Regions from separate parts of the Homo sapiens genome. Here region 2 is linked to region 1. Evidence: promoter capture Hi-C in human tissues and cell types (Jung and others, 2019). All regions are on one chromosome and are shown on one strand. Each heading gives the region's core, a stretch centred on a gene start or on the middle of the fragment in contact. The rest is flanking DNA. Distances are from core to core; before and after follow the strand shown.

Region 1 (5,294 bases), core at 1,280-3,779:
AAGAACTAGAGGCCAGGCGTGGTGGTTCACGCCTGTAATCCCAACACTTTGGGAGGTCAAGGTGGGTGGATCATCTGAGGTCAAGAGTTTGAGACCAGCCTGGCCAACATGATGAAACCCCATCTCTACTAAAAATACAAAAATTACCCAGGCGTGGTGGTGTGCCTGTAATCCCAGCTACTTGGGAGGCTAAGGCAGGAGAACCCAGGAATCACCTTAACCCAAGAGACAGAGGTTGCAGTGAGCTGAGATCACATCACTGCACTCCAGCCTGGGCGACAGAGCGAGATTCTGTCTCAAAAAAAAAAAAAAAAAGAAGCAACTAGAAGATTATTAGTGAGTTTCAGTCAAATTCAGTACCAAATGTTGAGTAGATAGCCACATCCATTCCTTGCCAAGTAATTTGTGTGGCATAGATGAACTTCCCTGGAGTATCATTTACTAGATCAAACTGTGGGCTTTGATGTAAATGTAGTTTACTAGACTTTCCCCAGTCTTTCACCCCAGCCTCAAGTCATCACTAATTAGGACCGTGCTGCTGTCAGGAAGCACTGCACGCCCACAAGTGTGTAGGGCGGCCGTTCTGTTTCATGGTAATCAGTCCCACCATGACCTCTGCACACACAGATGATTGTTCTTTTTTTTAGTTTGAGACCCGGTCTCGCAGTGCCGCCCAGGCTGGAGTGCAGTGGTGCAGTCACAGCTCACTGCAGCCTCAACCTTCCCGGCTCAGTGATCCTCCCACCTCAGACTCTTATCTGGGACCACAGGCACACGCCACCACAGCTGGCTAATTTTTTATGAGATGATGGTTTTTTTAAAGAGTATTCATTTATCTTCTATATAATCATTATAGACTTAATTCTAACAGTCTTGTTTGTGCCTCACTTTCAGACTGTAGAATGTGAAGAGGGAAGTGAAGACGATGAATCCCTCCGAGAAATGGTGGAGCTGGCTGCACAGAGACTGTACGAGGCCCTGACGCCAGTTCACTGAGACTGTGCCTGTATATGAACTTTGAAAAAATACTTGACTCTACTTTTGTTACCTAAAATAAAATGCATTCGTTTCTCTGGGGGAGCCTGTTTACTTTTAATGTCAAATGGCCTTTATTTCAACAGCCTGAATACTGCTAAATTGCTAATTAATTTGTCCATTATTCTAGAACTAACTACTAGATCAACTGCCCATTATTTTAGAATTTTGGATTCTTCTTCCAGGCATGTATGTGCAGCTCCCATTGAAACCATCAAGATCTGCCGATAGCAACCGCTGCTGGTTACCCTCTCCTCTGGGGTAACCAATTTGAGTTAATAATAAGGATTCTAAGTTGCACTTGAATCTTTTCTGTCTTCATCTCCACTGCTGCTGTTCGAGTCCAAGTCTACTCTCCCCTCTGAATTCCTGCAACCACCTCCATCTCCTCCCCTATAGCTGATTCCTGGAACAGACCTGGCCTCAAGCCTCTGCTGCTTGAAGGCCTTAATGAAGTCCTTGTGATAAAGATGAAGTCCAGGCACCTTTGCTTGCTCTAGCAGGGGCTCTCAATCTGGGCTACCCGTGGGAATCACGTGGGGTGCATCACAAGTGCACCTGTGCCCAAGTCCTGCCACCAGGAGGTGAGTTAGTCCGGCTGGAATGAGGGCCCTAGGTTGGATCTTAGTTGTAAAGCTCCCCCAGGTGATCCAAGCGAGCTTGGGACGAGCAACCTAAAGAAAGTCATGCTCTACGCCCATCGCCCCGCCCCAGGGAGCGGGGTCGGCCTCTGCGCCGGCGCCCCTGGCCCTTCTGTTACTCATCTACAGCTCCGTGATTTCAAGGCATCCTTCCCACCCGTTCGTTTTTAGCTCGGCTGCCGAACTTCATTGCACAGTTGAGGTAAGAACGTTGCATTACAACCACGTTTTAACAGGTGAATCCCTTGGAAGTTAGTCAGTGCTCCGTGTCCGCGGGGTTCTGCATCTGCGCATCCACCCCACGGCGGGAAAAAGAAAAGCGGCCGGCTGCGCGCGCACTGAAGGTGCAGCTGCTTTCCCTTGTCATTCGCAGAACCACGAGGTACTGCCAGGGTTTCCGCAGTGCCTGCGTCCTCGTGGGTGTTACAGGCCCTCCAGAGTGACGCTGGGCGCAGGAGGCCGCGCGCGCATCCCACGACCTCTTCCAGGGGGGCCTGGAGCAGCCCTCCGCCCCACCGAGAGCCAGCTGTGCTTCCCGCCGCGCGTCCTGAGGTCACACTCCTGCCCTTTGCCGAACGCACCTGCGCCCGCGGAGCGCGGGGTGGGCTTAGAAGGGCCCCCAACCGCTTTTCTTCCGGGAACCACGCAGCGGGACGCGGGCTCCGGACTCCCTGGGGGCAGCCTTGCTGTGGGTGAGCAAGCGCGGAGGCCGAGCTTCTTGCAAACGGACTCCAAGGGGCAACGACCTTCGCGCGTCACCAAAGTGACTGCGTGGGTGCCCACGAGCCCGGCTCCCGCAACCCACGGGCGGCCACTGCGCAGGCGCCTCTCGTGGCTGGCGGCCCCGCCCCGCCCCGCCCGGCTGCTCCATGGCGCTGTGCGAGGCCGCGGGCTGCGGGAGTGCCCTGCTCTGGCCTCGCTTGTTGCTCTTCGGGGACTCCATCACCCAGGTACGGCCGCCCCGACGCTCGGCCTCCCGCCCCGGCCTCCCTGCGGGGTCGCTGCCGAGCAGGCCGAGGCTCCTCGCCGTCCTCTTCGGCGCCCGAGACGGCTGGGCCGGAGGCCTGGCCACGCCCGTGGAGACACCGGAGGAGTGGCGGGTCCCCCAGTGGCTGCGCCTTCCGGGCCCGCGGCGTCCCGGAGGTCACGACGGCGTCCGCGAGAGCCCGGGCTCCAGGCACAGACGCGAGGGGACCCGGCCGCGCTGCCCGCCCCGCGCCGCCTCCCACCCGGGTCGAGATGCGCGGTCTTCCCCTCAGCGCCCTCCTGGGCAGCGGCCTTTCCCCTCCGGGTCCGGGTTAGCGGCCGCGGGCGACCGCGCGCTGTGTCCCAGGAGGCCCCGCGGCCAGCTCCGGGCAGAGGCGCCAGGAGCTCTCTCGCCCCATTCCCTGCGGGCACAGGTGGGGCCGTTAGGGGTTGACCTTGGAAGTAAAACGCCTTCAGGAATTAGGTAGAAAAGGACCATCCGTTCATCCAAGATCATCTCACCTCCCATGAAGGGAACGGTCTTCTAAATGCAGGTTCTTACTTCGGGGAGGGAGTAGAAATTCCATTCCTGTGTGTGTCCTCTTCTCAGACAGGACTTGCTTCACCAGGCTTTTGTGTATACGCCAGTAACTGGTAACATTATGTTTAGGCATATGGGGCAGTCAGAGCTGCCGAATTCCATGGGAATGTGTATGAAAAAGTGTTCACCCTCAGCTCGGTAACCAGCAAAGCAGTGAGGCGGTGTGGCCTTCATTTCCTCACTGACCTTTGACTTTATTTCCTGAACTTAGATTTCTGTTTAGCTTTTTTTTTTTTTTCTTTTTTTCTTTTTTTGAGACGGAGTCTCGCTCTGTCGCCCAGACTGGAGTGCAGTAGCGCGATCTCGGCTCACTGCAAGCTCCGCCTCCCGGATTCAAGCGTTTCTCCTGCCTCAGCCTCCCGAGTAGCTGGGATTATAGACGTGCGCCACCACACCGGGCTAATTTTTGTAATTTTAGTAGAGACGGGGTTTCGCCATGTTGACCAGGCTGGTCTCGAACTCGAGACCTCATGTGATCCGCCCGCCTTGGCCTCCCAAAGTGCTGGGAATACAGGCTGTTTAGCTTTTGATAGAGAAAAATCCCCCTCTGCTAAAGTGCTGCCAGGTGTACTTACCTGTAATCCCCAAAATGACCTCCTGGAGTGAAGCAATCAAAGCCAAGAAGGGAGCGCCGAGAAAACAGAAGTTGCCAATCAGAACTGCCCTCGCTGAGATGCCCGGTTACAGTCATTAGTAGTAATAATGGGCTTTTCTTCCTCCAGTTTTCCTTCCAGCAGGGTGGATGGGGAGCATCGCTGGCTGACAGGCTGGTCAGGTGAGAATGGTTTCCGATACTTGAGTTCTTATGGATGGAAAATGTCTTAGGGATCCGTCTTATGGATGAAGGATAGTTCTGAACAGAACATTCCTCCTTTATTAATTTTGCTTGCCTCCCCTAATCAGTATATAGGAGAAGGAACAGAAAACATTTACTCTTCACTCAGTCTGACCAATTAGATATTTTAGGGTTGAGCACTGATGGCTGGGTAGACTCAGACAAATCAAGGAAATGGCCAAGGCCTCTTCCCTAGTCAGGGGCAGACAGATCCAAGTCCAGCTGCTATGACTGCAGAACTTGCAGTTTCACTGCTACACCACACTGGTAGGAAGCTACTTTGCCTTTTTTTGAAGTGCTGCCATGACTTAAGACTCACCTTGTCACAATTCTACCGCACTTTGTTTTGGTTTTTGGTGGTTTTTGTTTTGCGACAGGGTCTCTTGTTAGGCGCGTCCACGTGAAGAGACCACCAAACAGGCTTTGTGTGAGCAACAAGGCTGTTTATTCACTTGGGTGCAAGTGGGCTGAGTCTGAAAAGAGCAAAGGGAGATGGGTAGGGCAGTACTATAGGATTTGGGTAGGTAGTGGAAAATTACAGTTAAAGGTGGTTATCTATTGTTAGCAGGGGAAGGGGGTCACAAGGTGCTCTGTGGGGAGCTCCTGAGACTCATTGTCCAGGGGAGGAATGCCACAAGGTCGATTGATTAGTTAGGGTGGGGCAGGAACAAATCACAATGGTGGAATGTCATCAGTTAAGGCAGGAACTGGCTGTTTCACTCCTTTTGTGGTTCTTCAGTTGCTCCAGGCCACCTGGATGTATACGTGCAGGTAACAGGTTATGACGGCTTAGCTTGGGCTCAGAGGCCTGACAACTCTGTCACACAGGCTTGAGTGCAGCAGTGTGATCAGGGCTCACTGCAGCCTCCACCTCTGGGGCTGAAGGCATCATCACCTCAGCCTCCTGAGTAGCTGGGACCAACAGGCACTCGCTACCACACCCAGCCCAGCACTTCATTAAAGTATTGTGATTTCACTCTGTAAAATGGCTAGTCGCATTTTATAATCATTACACACACAAACAATCTCTTAGAAATAAGGCTGAGTTTCGGTGGTGGTTCTGCAGTTTATAAATGCCACCTGAGAACTTTGAGCAGTGTCAGAAAGTGTCCCCTTGTGCTGCTTTGGAGCCGCTGCCTGACGCTGTGGCCTGCAGTTCTCCGCGGGTGCCCCAGCTTCTCTGCTTGGTTATGCATGTATGGGAATGTGAATACAG
Region 2 (5,761 bases), core at 1,459-3,958, 640 kb after region 1:
TGGTGGCAGGCACCTGTAATCCCAGCTACTCAGGAGGCTGAGGCAAGAGAATTGCTTGAACCCGGGAGGCAGAGGTTGCAGTGAGCCGAGATCGCGTCACTGCACTCCAGCCTGGGTGACAGAGCAAGACTCCATCTCAAAAAGAAAAGAAAAGAGACAAAAGAACACAAAACAGGTGGGTAAGTAGAAAACAAGTACTAATATAGTAGATGTAAACCAAATATATAAGTAATTACATTCAATGTAGATGGTGTGATGGCTGGAGGATTGCTTGAGCCCAGGAGTTCGAGGCTGCAGTGAGCTACGATCGTGCCACTGCACTTGAGTCCAGGAGACAGAGTGAGATCCTGTCTCTAAATAATAATAATGATAATAAAGTAAAATAAAAATGAGCATAAAGATTGGATAGGAAGACGTAAAACTGTCATTCTTTACAGGCACCATGACTGTGAATGAAGAAAACATAAAGGAGTCCACAGATAAACCAAATTAATTACAAATTGATCAAGGTTGTAGGATTTAAGGTTAATAATATGAAAAACAATGTCTATATATATCAGTGCATAAATTTAGAAAATAAAAAAGTTAAATGATACTACTTATCATAGAATAAGAAATAATAAATATCCAGGAGAAAAATTTTTTAAATGTGCAAGACCGCTATATAGGAAGCTACAAAAAAAAGTACTGAAAAAAATTAAGGACAACATAAATAAATGGAGGGATATACCGTGGCCATGGATTAGAAGACTCAATATCATAAAGATGTCAGTTCTCCTAAAATTCATCTAATGATTCTAACAATGTAATCTGAATGAAAAGATATTCAAAATGAAAATCAAAGCACATGGAGATGAAAAGTTTTAACATTCTAAATAAACCAGATCTAGGTAATAAAGGAAATCAAAACCCACATCTCAGACTATTTAAAAAATGCAAAAGTGAGATCACTATCCATTAAAACCTGTGGGATTTGCCAAAACCGTACTCAAAAGAAAATGTAACAGCGGCCGGGTGCGGTGGCTCTTGCCTGTAATCCCAGCACTTTGGGAAGCTGAGGCACGTGTATCACTGAAGGTCAGGAGTTTGAGACCAACCTGGCCAACATGGTGGAATTCCTTCTCTATTAAAAATACAAAAATTAGCTGGGTATGGTGGTGGGTGCCTTTAATCCCAGCTACTCGGGAGGCTGAGGCAGGAGAATTGCTTGAACCCAGGAGGTGGAAGTTGCAGTGAGCCAAGATGGCGCCACTACACTCCAGCCTGGGCGACAGAGAGACTCTGTCTCAAAAAAAAAGAAAAAAAAAAGAAGTAAACCCAACCAATATTTGAGAGGGGATAAGCAAAGAAATTAATTAGTTAGAAAGCAAGATGTGAGCAAGGGCCTGGTGACATGCATGTGTGATCACAGCTACTTGGGAGGCTGAGGTGGGAGGATCACTTGAACCCACGAGTTCGAGTCCAGCCTGGGCAACGTAGTGAGATCCCAACTCAAAAAAAGTAAATAAAACAAGAAAGCAAAATACACAGATGTCCCACACCAGGTGAACAGCCATCCAAGGAAATGCACACTACTCAGCAATAAACAGGAAGAAACTGTTGATACATTCAACAACTTGGATGAATCTCAAGGGCATTATTTCTAGTTAAAAAAAGCCAGTTAATCTCAAAGGGTTCCACATTATATGATTCCATTTATAGAATATTATCTAAGACAAATTACAGTGATAGAGACCAGATTAGTGGTTGCCGGGAGTTAAGGCTAGGGTGTTAACAATTAGGAGCAACACAGGGATCTTCTTTGTGGTGATGGAACAGTTCTGTATCCTGATTTGGTGATGGTTATTCAAATCTACACGTGATAAAATTTCAAAGAACCATGTACACATACACCTATACATGACTGCATGTAGAAACCAGTGAAATCCAAACAAGGTTAGTAATTTAATTACTGTCAACTTCCTGATTTTGACAATGTACTATGGTTATGTAAGATATTGAGTAACCTGGATGAGTAACTTTACCATTTTTGCAACTTCTGTGTGTCTTAAACTACCTCAAAATAAAGCTTAATACTTTTTTAAAAAAGAAAAAAAAAGACATAAATGGAATATTAGGAAACTAAAACTGCAACATATATAATAGAAAGAAATACTGTCCAAATCATATAAAGCCCCTATAAATCAATAAGAAAGTGATAAATGACCCAATCAATAAATGGACAAAGCCCAGGCACAGTGGCTTAGGCCTGTAATGTCAGCGTTTTGGGAGGCTGAGGCTAGAGGATCACTTAAGGCCAAGAGTTCAAGACCAGCCTGGGACCCATAGTGAGACCCTGTCTCTATAATAAAAGAAAATGAGCCGGGCGTGGTGGTGTGCACCTGCAGTCCTAGCTACTTGGGAGGCTGAGGTGGGAGGATTGCTTAAATCCAGGAGTTGAAGGTTGTAGTGAGCCATTATTGCACCACTGCACTCCAGACCAGGTGACAGAGCAAGACCCTGTTTCTTTTTTTTTTTCAGATGGAGTTTTGCTCTTGTTGCCCAGGCTGGAGTGCAATGGCACGATCTTGGCTCACCGCAACTTCCGCCTCCCGGGTTCAAGCAATTCTCCTGCCTCAGCCTCCCAAGTAGCTAGGATTACAGGCATGTGCCACCACACGTGGCTAATTTTGTAATTTTTTTAGTAGAGACGGGGTTTCTCCATGTTGGTCAGGCTGTTCTGGAACTCCTGACCTCAGGTGATCCGCCCGCCTCGGCCTCCGAAAGTGTTGGGATTACAGGCGTGAGCCACTGTGCCTGGCCAAGACCCTGTTTCTTTTAAAAAAAAAAAAAAGATGTGGCAGACACTAGGAATTTTTATTTTTTATTATTTATTTATTTATTTATTTATTTTGAGACAGAGTCTCACTCTGTTGCCCAGGCTGGAGTGCAGTGGTGCAATCTTGGCAAGCTCCGCCTCCCGGATTCTCGCCATTATCCTGCCACAGCCTCCCGAGTAGCTGGGACCACAGGCGCCTGCTGCCACGCCCGGCTAATTTTTTTGTATTTTTAGTAGAGACGGGGTTTCACCGTGTTAGCCAGGATGGTCTCAATCTCCTGACTTTGTGATCTGCCCACCTCGGCCTCCCAAAGTGCTGGGATTACAGGCGTGAGCCACTGCGCCTGGCCAGACTAGGAATTTTTAAATAAGCATAACAAACATACTGAAATCTGTGGATTCTAAATTCTAAGAGTTAAAAGCACATAGTTGTGGTTTTTATTTTTATTTATTTTGAGATAGCATCTTGCTCTGTTGCCCAGGTTGGAATGCAGTGGCGTGATCACGGCTCACTGCTGCTTCAACCTCCTGGGCTCAAGCAATACTCCTGCCTCAGCCTCCTAAACAGCTGGGACCAGAGATGCGTGCCACCACAATCAGCTACTTTTTTATTTTTCACAGAGACAAGGTCTATGTTGCCTAGGCTGGTGTTGAACTTCTGGGCTCAAGCCATCCTCCCACCTCAGCCTCCCAAAGTGCTAGGATTACAGGTGTGAGCCACCATGCCGGCCAGTTGTCATTTTAAAGTGCTAATATTTGCAACATGATGGAGATTACATCTCCTGTAACTATTTATGACTAAAAGTTTAAATGTCAGTTTAATTCTTATTTATTTTAGTTTTAGAGACAGGGGTCTTGCTGTGTTGCCCAGGCTGGTTTCAAATACCTGGTCTCAAGCAATTCTCCTTCCTCAGCCTCTGGAGTAGCTGGGAGTATAAGGGTGTGCCACTGTGCCTGGCTAAATGTCTATTTTAAATGTGTGTAAAGTGGCACATAACTGTTCAACATCATTTTAGAGGTTATCTGAGCACGAAGAAAATCATTAATCCCAAAGGCTCTGCACTGTGCTGGCTGCCTCATCCTCACCATCTCCTGAAAATGGCCTCTCAGTGGCTGAAGCTCTCCAATGCGAATGTTCTAGACACAAATGATGTGGTGACACTCACATCAGCATCAAACAGCTCCATCTGGTTGTCCACCCTGCTTCCTGCTTAACCATTTCCTGCTGACTTCTGAGTGAGTGACACATAAACTAACTACAAAGTTGAACTGGGCTGCTCCTGAGACTTGTGGTTGTGGTGCTGCTGTGCTGTGCTACATTAAGAATGTTGGGCTGGGCGCAAGGGCTCATGCCTGTCATCCCAGCACTTTGGGAGGCCGAGGTAGAAGGATAGCTTGAGCCCAGGAGTTTGAGCCCAGCCTGGGCAATATCGTGAGACCTCATCTATATATATATATATATAAATATACGTAATTGGCAGTTCATATTAAAACAAAGTTTTTGAGAGTCTGGAATTCTGGAGTTAGTCAGACCTGGGTTCAAATCCTAGCTATATTATCACGTATGAAGTCTTCTTGCCAATAACTTTTAGCCTTAGGCTAATAACGATCCCCCGCCGGACTTTTTTTTTTTTTTTTGAGACGGAATTTCATTCTTGTTGCCCAGGTTGGAGTGCAATGGTGTGATCTCGGCTCACTGAAACCTCTGCCTCCTGGGTTCAAATGATTCTCCTGCCTCAGCCTCCCAAGTAGCGGGAACCCAAGTAGCGGGAATTACAGGCGCCTGCTGCCACGTCTGGCTAATTTTTGTATTTTTAGTAGAGATGGGGTTTCCCTATATTGACCAGGCTGCTCTCAAACTCCTGACCTCAGGTGATCTGCCTGCCTCACCCTCCCAAAGTGCTGGGATTACAGGCGTGAACCTCCAAGCAGGGCCTAATAAAGCCTTTTGACCTAACTTCCAGTGTAGAGTACAGGGGTCAGGAAAACAAGTTCATTGACACTGTGAATAAACAATTAGGCAAATGTAGAATGTGGGACATTCTACAAGAAAACTGGCCTGTACTTCAAAGTCAATGTCGTGGGGAAAAGAAGTGGAGGAGCTTTACTAAGAGTCTAAAGCAACATAATAAACGCAATGCATGTGATTAATTAGATACTGCACAAAAAAATAAATCCAAAAAACTATGAGACATTTTTGAAACAATTGGAAAAACAGGAATATGGACTGGATATTAGGTTATATTAGAGAATTATTGTTAGTTTTCCTAGGGATAAATGTGGTATTGTGGTGATATTAACAGAGTGTCCTAATTTTTAGGAGCTGAAACGTTTAGGGGTGATGGGTTATGATATCTATCACTCACTTTCAAATGATCCATAAAAAAGCATAAGCCTCATACACCCACAGAGGGGGTGTCTGCCACATTTGCCATGAAGCAAATATGGCAAAATGGAAACAGCTGTTGAATCCTAGCTGGTGGGTGAACACTAGGAATCCTTCCATTATTCTGTATGTTGAAAACATTCATAGTAAAAAGCTAGGCTAAAAACGTTCTGCTGTGCAGTTGTGCTGTGCGACCTTGGGCAGTTTCCTTGCCTCCCAGGCCTTCATTTCATCACCTATGAAAAGGGTTAAAAATACCAACCCCGGTGGGGCGGTGGCTCACGCCTGTAATCTGAGCATTTTGGGAGGCCAAGGCGGGTGGATGGCTTGAGCCCAGGGGTTCAAGACCAGCCCGGGTAACATACCGAGAACCCATCTCTACAAAAAATTAAAAAATTAGCCTGGCGTAGTGGTGCCTGCCTTGAGTCCCAGCTACTCGGGAGGCTGAGGTGGGAGGATCGCTTGAGCTCGGATAGTTGAGGCTGCAGTGAGCTATCATGGAGCCACCAGACTGGGCAACAGAGCAAGACCCTGTCTCAAAACAAAAAACAAAAAAC

Evidence for each region. The method cuts DNA at HindIII sites, captures the fragments that hold promoters and counts their contacts. A contact is called where the count stands out against the background at its distance.
Region 2: a fragment that was not itself captured here is called in contact with the fragment with the promoter of IAH1 in region 1 in 2 of the 25 tissues and cell types used here (aorta and bladder).

What each region holds. Positions count from the first base shown.
Region 1 is chr2:9,472,022-9,477,315 of GRCh38, forward strand. IAH1 (isoamyl acetate hydrolyzing esterase 1 (putative)) reads left to right here and starts at 2,530. Exons shown (of 6, transcript NM_001039613.3): 1 at 2,530-2,626; 2 at 3,966-4,018. The coding sequence starts at 2,546. It overlaps CPSF3 (cleavage and polyadenylation specific factor 3), which reads left to right. Exons shown (of 18, transcript NM_016207.4): 18 at 895-1,080. The coding sequence ends at 996. RefSeq lists a silencer at 2,302-3,071 and enhancers at 2,341-3,108, 3,589-4,149. The HindIII fragment of the contact is 18,322 bases long and covers 1-5,294 here.
Region 2 is chr2:10,114,318-10,120,078 of GRCh38, forward strand. No RefSeq gene overlaps it. Among named protein-coding and RNA genes, the nearest start is that of RRM2, 5.5 kb to the right of the region's middle. RefSeq lists an enhancer at 5,209-5,761. The HindIII fragment of the contact is 3,706 bases long and covers 856-4,561 here.